4 separate regions of the Homo sapiens genome follow, and all the other regions are linked to region 4. The links are contacts of gene promoters, found by promoter capture Hi-C in human tissues and cell types (Jung and others, 2019). All regions are on one chromosome and are shown on one strand. Each heading gives the region's core, a stretch centred on a gene start or on the middle of the fragment in contact. The rest is flanking DNA. Distances are from core to core; before and after follow the strand shown. Region 1 overlaps CCDC110 (coiled-coil domain containing 110). Region 2 overlaps CFAP96 (cilia and flagella associated protein 96). Region 3 overlaps SORBS2 (sorbin and SH3 domain containing 2). Region 4 holds the start of PDLIM3 (PDZ and LIM domain 3).

Evidence for each region. Contacts are between HindIII fragments. The study calls those that stand out against the background at their distance.
Region 1: a contact is called between a fragment that was not itself captured here and the fragment with the promoter of PDLIM3 in region 4, in 3 of the 25 tissues and cell types used here (adrenal gland, heart left ventricle and thymus).
Region 2: a fragment that was not itself captured here is called in contact with the fragment with the promoter of PDLIM3 in region 4 in 2 of the 25 tissues and cell types used here (adrenal gland and neural progenitor cells).
Region 3: a contact is called between a fragment that was not itself captured here and the fragment with the promoter of PDLIM3 in region 4, in 2 of the 25 tissues and cell types used here (heart left ventricle and stomach).

Annotation. Positions count from the first base shown.
Region 1 is chr4:185,465,090-185,467,789 of GRCh38, reverse strand. The region is part of intron 2 of CCDC110 (coiled-coil domain containing 110); the gene reads left to right. Among named protein-coding and RNA genes, the nearest start is that of CCDC110, 5.3 kb to the left of the region's middle. The HindIII fragment of the contact is 5,468 bases long and covers 1-2,700 here.
Region 2 is chr4:185,445,439-185,448,138 of GRCh38, reverse strand. All of the region lies in intron 7 of CFAP96 (cilia and flagella associated protein 96), which reads right to left. It overlaps CCDC110 (coiled-coil domain containing 110), which reads left to right. Exons shown (of 7, transcript NM_152775.4): 7 at 2,597-2,700. The coding sequence ends at 2,637. Among named protein-coding and RNA genes, the nearest start is that of CFAP96, 21 kb to the right of the region's middle. The HindIII fragment of the contact is 5,331 bases long and covers 1-2,700 here.
Region 3 is chr4:185,642,680-185,645,379 of GRCh38, reverse strand. The region is part of intron 13 of SORBS2 (sorbin and SH3 domain containing 2); the gene reads left to right. Among named protein-coding and RNA genes, the nearest start is that of SORBS2-AS1, 56 kb to the right of the region's middle. The HindIII fragment of the contact is 5,438 bases long and covers 1-2,700 here.
Region 4 is chr4:185,534,117-185,536,816 of GRCh38, reverse strand. PDLIM3 (PDZ and LIM domain 3) reads left to right here and starts at 1,310. Exons shown (of 8, transcript NM_014476.6): 1 at 1,310-1,475. The coding sequence starts at 1,383. The HindIII fragment of the contact is 14,334 bases long and covers 1-2,562 here.

The DNA of each region.
Region 1 (2,700 bases), core at 149-2,648, 69 kb after region 4:
ATCGTTACCCTGTTGCATTTTCAGAATGTATTGGTTCCTCTTGGTCTGTTTGCTACAGGTATGCAGTTGGTACTTTTTGTATACATTGAATACAATATTTTTTGCAGGCTCAGAATAAAAATTACCTCAAAAGTCATCCCATTGATAACTACCTTGTTTTTCACTTTTGACAGAAATATGAAGCAGCTGGAAAATTTAAGTTGAATATGAGATGAGTAATATTCTTACATTCCCAATAAACTCTCATCTTGGTGGGTGGGACCATGCCTTCCGCTTTGTTTATGTGCCTCCCGATATTGTATGTTTAGCAGGGACTTGGTAAATGGTGAAGTGTGATTGTGTTTTATCTCCTGGGTTCTTTGATAATTTCCCTTCCAATTCTAGAATCACGTAATTCTGTGTGACTAAGTATTGCCTAGTTTTTAAATTACCTTTCCTTTGGGAATAAGTAGCAGCCGATGTCTCTGAAACTCATAAGAAAAACAGAAAGTTATGTTAATAGCTTTTAAAAATAGATGAATCCGACTCCCTGCCTACTCTCTGCCTGTGCAGAATCATCTGAACTTTGCTGGAGAAAAACACTCACTTTTGAGTCATACCATGAATCTAAAATGCACTCTCAATGCTATTGGGAAAACTTACTTTATTTCCACAGAAAATTCTTCTTCAAATCCTCTGCAAAAAAGCTATTTCACTCCTCCTGTTCTCAAATCTTGAACACGTTTCTCCCTGGCCGCTCCACTCATAACATGGTCCCACTCTATATGAAAAAAGTAGAAGCACTCAGACCCAAACTCCTTCATTCTCACCCTTCACATTTGTGAAACCCATATTCTAGGTCTTCTCCCATTTCAACGGAAGAATTGTCCTTGATCAATCAAAAGTGATTTCCTCTGGATCTCATCTCTTGTGGAATTCTCAAGTCCCAGCTTCTGCAATTAGCCTCCCTCATTGTCCGGAATTATTGCTTTTCTCCCTTTCTACTATGTGATTCCAGCAGCAAACAAGCATGTTAGAATGTCCTGTGGTTTAAAAAAAAAAAAATTCCTTCTCTTAGCCAGATGTGGTGGCACACACCTGTGGTCCCAGCTACTCCGGAGGCTGACATGGGAGGATCGCTTGAGCCTTGGAGGTGGAGGCTGCAGTGAGCCAAGATCATGCCACTGCACTCCAGCCTGGGCAACAGAGTGAGACTCCATCTCAAAAAAAGAAAAAAAATCCCTCTTGACTTTCACATCTCTTCCAGGATGCACTGTCTTCCCTTCCACAGTGAAACTAGAAACAGTGACCTATCCTCCATGCCCACCAATCTCCACATTCCATTCTCTCCTCAAGCACTTCGTTCGGGCTTCTATGCATGTCCTTCTGCATGGCCAGCAGTGACATCTATGTTTGTTTGTTTATTTATTTATTTTAGATGGAGTTTCGCTCTTGTCTCCCAGGCTGGAGTGCAGTGGCACAATCTCGGCTCACTGCAACCTCCACCTCCCACGTTCAAACGATTCTCCTGCCTCAGCCTCCCGAGTAGCTGGGATTACAGGCACATGCCACCACACCCAGCAAATTTTTTGTATTTTTAGTAGAGACAGGGTTTCACCATGTTAGCCAGGATGGTCTCGATCTCCTGACCTCGTGATCTGCCCGCCTAGGCCTCCCAAAGTGCTGGGATTACAGGTGCGAGCCACTGCACCCGGCCCATCCATGTTGAATGATGTGTTCATTGCTGCTCCCATGAATCATACACTGGTAGACCCACCTGACTATTGGATATCTCTTCTTTGATGTTTAACAGACAACCTAGCCTTAACATATCTAAAAATGTTTTTCTCCTAAAGTATGTTCCTACTCTACTGTTTTCCCCCAGTAAATGACATCATCCCTCATCCATCTGCTCTCACCAAAAAACAAGGAGCCATCATTCATTCATCTCTCCTGGCCCCAACGAATCCTCCAGCAATGCTGCTGGCTTCATCTCCAAAGTATATTCTGAATCTACCTGCTTTCCCCACCTCCCCCACCACCATTCTAGTCCAAGATATCTTCATCTCCACTTAGATTATTGCGGTAGCCCTGCAATTGCCTTCTCACCCCACCCCATACTCTATTATCATGTAGCAGAGTGACCTGTAAACTTTTCAGTCAGATCAAATCATTCTCATGATGGAAACCTTCCAAAGTTCCCCGTTTCACTTGAAGGAAAAGCCAACCCGCTCAGCTTGGCCTGGAGGCTCTGCATAACCTAGCCCCTGTCTCCTGCTCCGACGTGTCCTCATCTTGTGCTCCCATGGGTCCACTAAGCTGCTTAGTAACAGTGCAATCACGGTGAGGCCAAAAAAGGAAGAAGAGATGGAAGATGGAAAATATATGTAGACAACATGTATAAATCCCATTGCTTTCTTTGAAATCTTTGATTTACTGTATCCCTTTATTAAGTCTGTACATTTCTTTTGGTCTCATATTTCTTATTTGGTTTTAGCTAAAGGAATCTTATATTTAGCTTTGAACTTGCAAATCCTCCTAATGAAAGGAAATCTGTACAGAAAAAGGAAGCTATTCCTGTAGGTATGGGAAGGAGATAGAATTTTGAACAGTTACATCACTCAGAATAGAGTTGAAGGCTGAATACATTTATGAGAATGATATCCTATCTTCGTGTTTAAATAAAGAGCTGTGTGGAAATTACAGTTACAGAACAGAATG
Region 2 (2,700 bases), core at 107-2,606, 89 kb after region 4:
TGAGACAGGAGAGTTGCTTGAACCTGGGAGGCAGAGGTTGCAGTGAGCCGAGATCACACCTTTGCACTCCAGCCTGGGTGACAAGAGTGAAACTCCATCTCAAAAAAGGAAAAAAAGACAAAACGTATTTCCAAAACCTGTTCTTTCAAACCTATATATAGTATCAGCAAGACATAGTAGGCTTGGAAAACTTAAATTGGCTAATTATTGCAGCTAAGAAGGACTATTCATTTCACCTACATTACCTCACTTATAATAGCATCTCATACATTAGTGATTTTGTATTAATTGCATAGTTTAGCTTCTATTTGGTATCATAGCAATTTAGAGCTTCTGTCAAAGTAGTATTAGAGTTTGGGGGGTGGTTATTTTATTTTACATAAAATGTGAATGTACTATCCTTCCAGTTAATTGCAGTGATACTATATTACTGAAATTGAATTCATAGGAAAGACACTGGTTCTAATACTCCTAATGAGATGCATACATGGCTTAATACAGATGTCATAGTATTGGAGGCCACTGAAATACACACAGCATTCTGTAGTTAACGCTAGTGACACATACAAGTGCTCAAGAAAAAACTTCACTTGACAAACGCTTTATGCACTTGCCATTTGGGACATATTGAGATAAATGTTTTGAAAAAATATAAAATCGGCCGGGCGTGGTGGATCAAGCCTGTAATCCCAGCACTTTGGGAGGCCAAGGTGGGTGGATCACGAGGTCAGGAGATCAAGTCCATCCTGGCTAACACAGTGAAACCCCGTCTCTACTAAAAATACAAAAATTAGCCGGGCGTGGTGGCGGGCGCCTGTAGTCCCAGCTACTCGGGAGGCTGAGGCAGGAGAATGGCGTGAACCCGGCAGGTGGAGCTTGCAGTGAGCCGAGATCGTGCCACTGCATTCCAGCCTGGGCGACAGAGTGAGACTCCGTCTCAAAAAAAAAAAAAGAAAAAATATAAAATCAAACATAGCTATATGTAACAAAATAACTATCATACAAGGTATAACATATATGGAATGACTATAACACATAAAAGACAGGTTTGAGATAGAAGTTCAGTAGAAGCTCCATGTGAGGATATTAGCAGACTTTAGAGAAGAGATGATAGAAGATAGAAGGCAGAATGAACAACCTTACCAGCAATGTAGTAGAGTAGGTTAAAAGAAAGTACATGTATTTCATGAGGCTCAAAAAAAAGATGCATGAAAATAACAAGAAAGACAACAGGAAAGCAGGTTATAGCCACCTTACAAAGGAACTTCAGGTTTTTAAGCAAATGTTTGAAACTAGATGGCATCTCAAGCTAATTAGTCCCCATGAAACCAGAAGATAACTTCAATTTTTTTTATAGAAAACACATCTTAAAGTACATAAAATACAGTAAAATCATGTACATCACAAAAAATGTTGTGGGCTATAGATACTATGTCTGAAGTAACAAACTATATAACATTTAAAATTTTCCTTATGTAAAATCATTTTTTGCTAATCTTGCAAACTCTCAACATAAAATTTAGTACTAGGTAGTCCCTGATTGATATAAAGCTTAAGATGCCCAGAAATTTTTTTTCAACTTAAGCAACTGACTAGATCAAAATAATTCAGTCAGAAAATTGGATACATATTGAAGCTCTAAATGGATGTTGAGTGAGAGAATAAAGTGAAAAAAGGCCATTGTTAGGTATCCAGGGACCACAGAATCTTCTCAGTAGTCTCATGAGCAAGAAGAGTAGTACAAGTATGAACACCATCTAAGTTAGAGCACCCCAAATTATCAAAGTTTTAAGACAGTATCAACTTACTATGAAGTCTTCTTTCCCAAAAGAATTCATGTATTCAAAATCATATTTTGATTAGGTAAAAGTTAACACATAGCACTGGTATTTTTAATTCATAAAAATGTTAAGTAATTTGTCTTTAGCTGATTAGTTCTGCTGATAAATACATTGTTCTAAAGAACTTAACAAGTAGTCAATCAGAAATACACCTTTGTGCTGGGCGCAGTGGCTCACACCTGTAATCCCAGCACTTTGGGAGGCTGAGGTGGGTGGATCACCTGAGGTCGGGAGTTCGAGACCAGCCTTACCAACATGGAGAAACTCCGTCTCTACTAAAAATACAAAATTAGCCGGGTGTGGTGTTGCATGCCTGTAATCCCAGCTACTCGGGAGGCTGAGGCAGGAGAATCGCTTGAACCTGGGAGGTGGAGGTTATGGTGGGCCGAGATCACGCCATTGTACCCCAGCCTGGGCAATAAGAGCGAAACTCCGTCTCAAAAAAATAAAAAAGAAATACACCTTTGTAATAAAGGGCAGTTTTATTTTTGTGAAATAATACTAATGTTAGTATTATAATTGCTGTCCCCAAGTGTTAAAGATGTACTACTGTTTTTATAAAAGAATGTAAATTTAGTGTCCTTTAGACACAGAATAACTGATTGTTTTTACTCCAAAGAACTTTTTCAGTTTTGAGAGTATGCAAAACCTGGATAAAATTGAAGTTTTAAGATACCTTGATAATATACTTTTTCTCAAAGCATTATAGTTATGTTGGCATTTTTAATTAACCAGAATATTTTCTATTTTCATAGGTTATTTCAAAGTTAAAGACAGAACTCTCAAGCATCATTAGGATTCCTCAAGATTGCTAAGAAACTCCCTTCGAGAAATAGCCAATGTTAATTGTACTGCTAAC
Region 3 (2,700 bases), core at 147-2,646, 110 kb before region 4:
CCATTGCAAACTTGTAACCCATTTACTAGTTTCTGTGATTGAGTATCATGCTACTCTGAAATTTCCAGAATGAGAATTGAGTGAAACACAATGTCATCATTGCAGAAAATTGAAAACAGTGAAATAATATATCTCAGATTTAAATTAAATAACAAAATTTTAATGATCTTTCTAGTAATTTATGAGACTCTTAGGATAACGAACATGGTAATGGTATTGGAATGCTTTGGTAGCCGTGGTGTCAGGAAACAGGATTGGTTTTAGACGCTCTCCCACCACGATGTTTCTATTATTTAGTCATTCAGTAAAACTGACTGAGCACCAGCTACATGCCAGGCTTTATGTGAGGTGCACAGCGGGGAACAGGACACACTCTCTACCTTGAGGAACTTCAAGTCTATCATTTAATATCTATGCAAGACTAGATCTGAGTTTGTGCAAAGTAAACAGCCTCTTATATGGTTAAAACAGACGCACACCTAAAAAACCCTCCCTTTGCTCCCTTTAGGGTTTATACATTGACCCTATCATTGTTATTGAAATTGTCACATTACTCTTGTCTTTGGGTTAAAAAAGACTTTAAAGACTCCTCGTTTTACAATAGCAATAATAATAGCAATAGCAATCATTGTAAATCTTTATTGAGCACTCACTATATGCCAGGCGCTGTAATTAGTAATTTATGCCTTATCTCATGTAAAGTTTCCAGCAGCCCTATTAAGCAGACACATGGCATTTCCATGTTACAGATGAAGAGACTGAAACACACATTAGCTCGCCTTGCCCCAGGGACACATGGTGGGAGCCAGAACTAGGAGTTGAGCCCAGGCATACTGATGCCTGGTGCACTTGGTCGCTGCTGTACAGCCACTCCAGGTGTGGCTGAGCAGGAAACACATTGAAGTAGCAGTTATTTGATTCCCTTATTTGATGATTTTGCAGTATAAATTAATTTATTTATTGGCTAATTTACAATAAAGTATACTTGATTTACTTTATCAGAAACTTAGGCCCTAAGTAGTTACCACACAGGACCAGTAGATGTGACTGGTTGTAAGACAGGAAACTCTGGAGCCATGAGTGTGACAGAGATTCGAGTGTGGATAGGTCTCTGCAGCCACAGGAGAAGATAAGTAGAAGGAACTTAGAAACTTGGAAGGAAGTGAGAATGGCTATCTTATGGAGAAATAGAAAGAACCAAAAATGTTAACCCTCCTAAACAATTTTGGAGAGGACCAGCCTTAAGCAGAATGGTTTGAGCTGGCCATATGGGACATGTTGGCCAGCCTTTCCAGTGTAGGACCAGCTCATCATCTTTTTAAAAAAATTAGTCCTGACTTCGTTTCAATTGCCTCTATAAATTAGAAAACAAAAAGAGCCAAGTGGGCCGTGGTGATGTAGAGACTGGCCGCGTACTGATATAGTTTACATAAGATTCTGAAGTGTTGAAAATACAGGCTAGAGGTTGAAGAGCAGGCGTGCTGAATGAGAGTGGCGTCGCAGCGATGGCCAGCGCTGAGGGGTATCAAGGTCTTATTCATGCATTCTCATGTCTTTTGACTCCAAGATGCCTTGGAAGCATTCCTTTGCTCTTTTCATTTTCAATTTTTGAAAAATATACACAACACCTGGGCAATTCTGTGTTGCTCTTTTGAATCTCTACATGGCCTCTCCATCTGCCCACTTTTCCAAAGGGTCATCTTGGGTTTTCCCCTCTCCTGCAGTGGACTCAGTGTCGCCTGCCAGGAGAAGTGCCACTGCTGCTCCTCTCTTCTGGCCCACAATTGTCCGTGCCTGGGCTACAGTGACAGCCACCTGATTCATTTCCCTACCTCTCCAGTCTAGTCTCCACACCACAGCGAAGGCAATCTTTAGAAAATCTTTATAAAACCTCCAGCTCAAAATTTTCTCTGGCTCTTCACTGTCCTTCGAGCAAAATCTGAAACCCTGAGCATAATTTATAGAAGACCTGTGACTGGGCTCCAGCTGACCTCTCCAGCCTCATCTCTCCTCCCACCCTCCCTGCCTCGCTAGGTTCCAGCTGCACAGAGAACTTTCAATTCCCGCATTGCTGGGCCTCTGTAAAGGCTGCACCTCCCCACCAGGAAAAGCTCTCCCCACCACCTCTTCCTTCACATGGAGAATTCTATCCCATCCTCCAGGTCCCAGCACAGTCCCACCTCCCCCAGGGAATGTGCCTGACTCCTCTGCATTAGGTTGGAGGCTCTCCCTGCTGTGTGCCCATGGCACACTGTGTTCCTCATGAGATCTTGAGCTTCTTGAAGGCGAGGGCTGTGACTGGTCCACCAGTTGTATCCCAACACCTGGGACGATGCCTGGCCTGTAGCAGGTGTTCAGTGAATATGCATTCGTGGAATTTCTAAGTGAATGAAGGAACACAGGTTTCACCCTTGCAGTCAGTGGAAAAAGTTGGTGAGGGACTGAATCCTTGTTCTGTTGTTTATCCATGAAGCCTATATATTTCTAGTGCAAAAGGCCCAGTGGGTCTCAAAACATTCTTGGAGGGGTTTGACACACTGCTATTAGTAGTGACTCATAATTCCACGATTCCCTGGGATACAGAGAAGGCAGGGGGGTAGTACTGTTTGAACAAAAATCTTCCCAAGACCCTGGCAAAGAGATCTTCCTTAGGAATCAGTGGCATATGCGTTTATGTTCTTTAACAGGGAAAGTAAAAGT
Region 4 (2,700 bases), core at 61-2,560:
AAAAACAAAAAGAAAGAACTCATCAGATATTATGTGGATATTGTATAGATATTGGCTACATCTAAATGATGCCAAAATGACCAGCAAAAAGGCAAAGAAAAAATCAGCTGTTTATATAAGCCAGCTCGTGAAGTAAGGTAAAAACAATTACTATAATTACACAACACCAAATGACTTGTCTGATTTTTTTTTTCTGAATGGACCTCTGTGTGTGTGCACGTGTATGTCTGCACCACGCAGACAGAGCCAGCAGCTGACTGAAGAAATGTGCTCTGCAGTGATACAGCCACAGCCCAAACAGGCAGTCAGCAGGACACACAATGTTCAGCTCCTCGATGGTCCAGCATAGATGGGGCACTGGGAAATGTGTGGAGCTAGAAAGTGCTTATCCCCTGGGACTTTTATGTAATCCACCACAGCGGACAAAGTAATGCCCATCCTACCTTTGTGATTTACATTTGCCCAGGCTGGTTCGCTTTGCTTACTGCTTACTGCTTACTGCTTTCTGCATCTCCTTTCTCTTTCCTCCATCAGTCTTAAAACTGCTTCCAAACAGACTGCCCTCTTAAAAGTCTGCTGCAGCTCTGTCCTCCTGGACCAATACGACCCTATCATATGGGGCATTAAGTCCAAGACCCTTATTCTTGAGTGTTTAAAGCATTTCTTATTTCTCTTCCCTCATTCTCCCCTCTCCCTTTGGGAATCACAACATCCCAACGCGTAACACCAGAAATACTTGAGTCCACACTGAGACTACCACAGGACCCCGGCCAGACTCTCCTGCACTTTGGGAGGCTGAGGTGGGAAGATTGTTTGAGCCCAGGAGTTCAAGACTAGCCTGGGCAACAAAGTGGAGACCCGGTCTCTAAGAAAAATAAATAAATAAAATAAAAATTTAAAAGGACATTAAGTAATTTGGCCAAAGCCGCAGAGGTCGTAAGTAAATATTAACGCACTCGAAACTGCTAAATAACTTATTGTATCGATGATGCTCGTTTTAATTGAAAGCATGGAGGCTGTGGTCTGGCTGCTTTCGCTTCCAACAAAGTGCACTGCTGCGCTCCAAGCAGAAGATAAACAGGGAGACAGGTGTGACTTCAAGAGAGCGACGGACGCTGTAACCCGAAGCCCCCGCGCCCGCCGCGGCCCGGGAGGCTGCCCCAGCCGGCCGGGCTGCGCACTCCCGCGGGGCTGGCGCGGCTCTCGCTTCCAAAGTTGGAGCTCTCCGGGGTGGGAGGGGGCGGGGAGGACGGCGGGGCGGTGACGTCACCCCCAGCGGGGATAAAGCGCCCCCGCCCGGGTCGGGGCCAGGACGCCGCCCGGCGCGGAGTGGCTGCCCTGCGCGGGGACACTTAGAGCCCGGTGGGCGGGAGGAAGGCGGCATGCCCCAGACGGTGATCCTCCCGGGCCCTGCGCCCTGGGGCTTCAGGCTCTCAGGGGGCATAGACTTCAACCAGCCTTTGGTCATCACCAGGGTAGGTGTCGGCATTCTTGCTTTTGCTGCGAGGTGGGGACTCCGGCGGCGTCCGGGGGGACGCAGTGGATGCCCCGGGGCCGAGGGCGGCCAGAAAGCGCGCGAGGGCGGGCGGACGGGGCGCTGCTGGCTCCCGGGCTTCGGCGCCCAGCTCCGGGGGCGGCGGCAACTCCGTCAAGTGGCTGCGGAGCGGCTCAGAGATTTGACAAAGTCCGCTCTAAAGGTGTCCCATCCTCTGGGTCCGCAGCGACTTTCCGAGGAGAGCCACTGGGCTCAGGGAAGGCGAGGCTGCCAGGCTCGAGTGCCTCCTCCCCTTTAGGTTTTAAATGTTTTATATGTGATAACAGAAATAAAACACACCCCATCGCCCTTCCGTAACAAATGATGGGTCCCGGGTGGGAGAGGCGAGGGACTGGCACCCCCCGGCATTCCCTGGAGCTGGCGCGCATCTGAGCGTTTTTCTCGTCCGGATGAAAAGTTCAGCAGCGCGCTGTTCGCGGGGCACGACCTGCGTTGGCCAAACTGGAGCCGCTCCTATCAGCCCAGACAGGGGAAGTCTTCCTAATGCTCACTCCTCAGTTTCCAGGCATTTTGAGCACGTTTTCCAAAGCTGAGAACTTGGCTTAGGAATTACCAACTTCTAACTCTAGCTACAAAGAAAACGTGGCAGACAGTTTAGTTTACCTGATGCAAAGTAAACCACTCAGCCTAAAACGGAAAATAATGCTTTAATGTCAAAGTCAAGCTTTACTTGGTGTTCTCTACTGTCTAATGAGAAAACAAGGTAAAAATAAAACCTCAGGGTTTCTCTCCTGTCAGTAAATTTGTAGAATTAATTCTAAAGCATTATTTGGTCTAGCTGGTTTTTTTCTAACACAATGTTTTTCTTCATAGAAAATTAATGTATTATTTCAGTTATCACATATAAAACATTTAATACCTAAAGGCGTAAACTTCCAGAATATTATACTTTTAGTTGCAGAGTATTATACTTTATTTTCTTGTATTCTTCTCATGCCATATTTTATAATTGTATGTGTTATAATCTGATTGATCTGCTCATACAGATTTTGAACAAGGTAATACCTTTTAAATTCTGTTTTATTTATATATGCCTATGAGATTTGGGAACCAACATCCTTTTAAAAATATGTCAAAATGTGTATCCTACAGACGCATACAATGGAACGTTTCAAGCCTTGTTTTACATTTTTCAAAAACATATA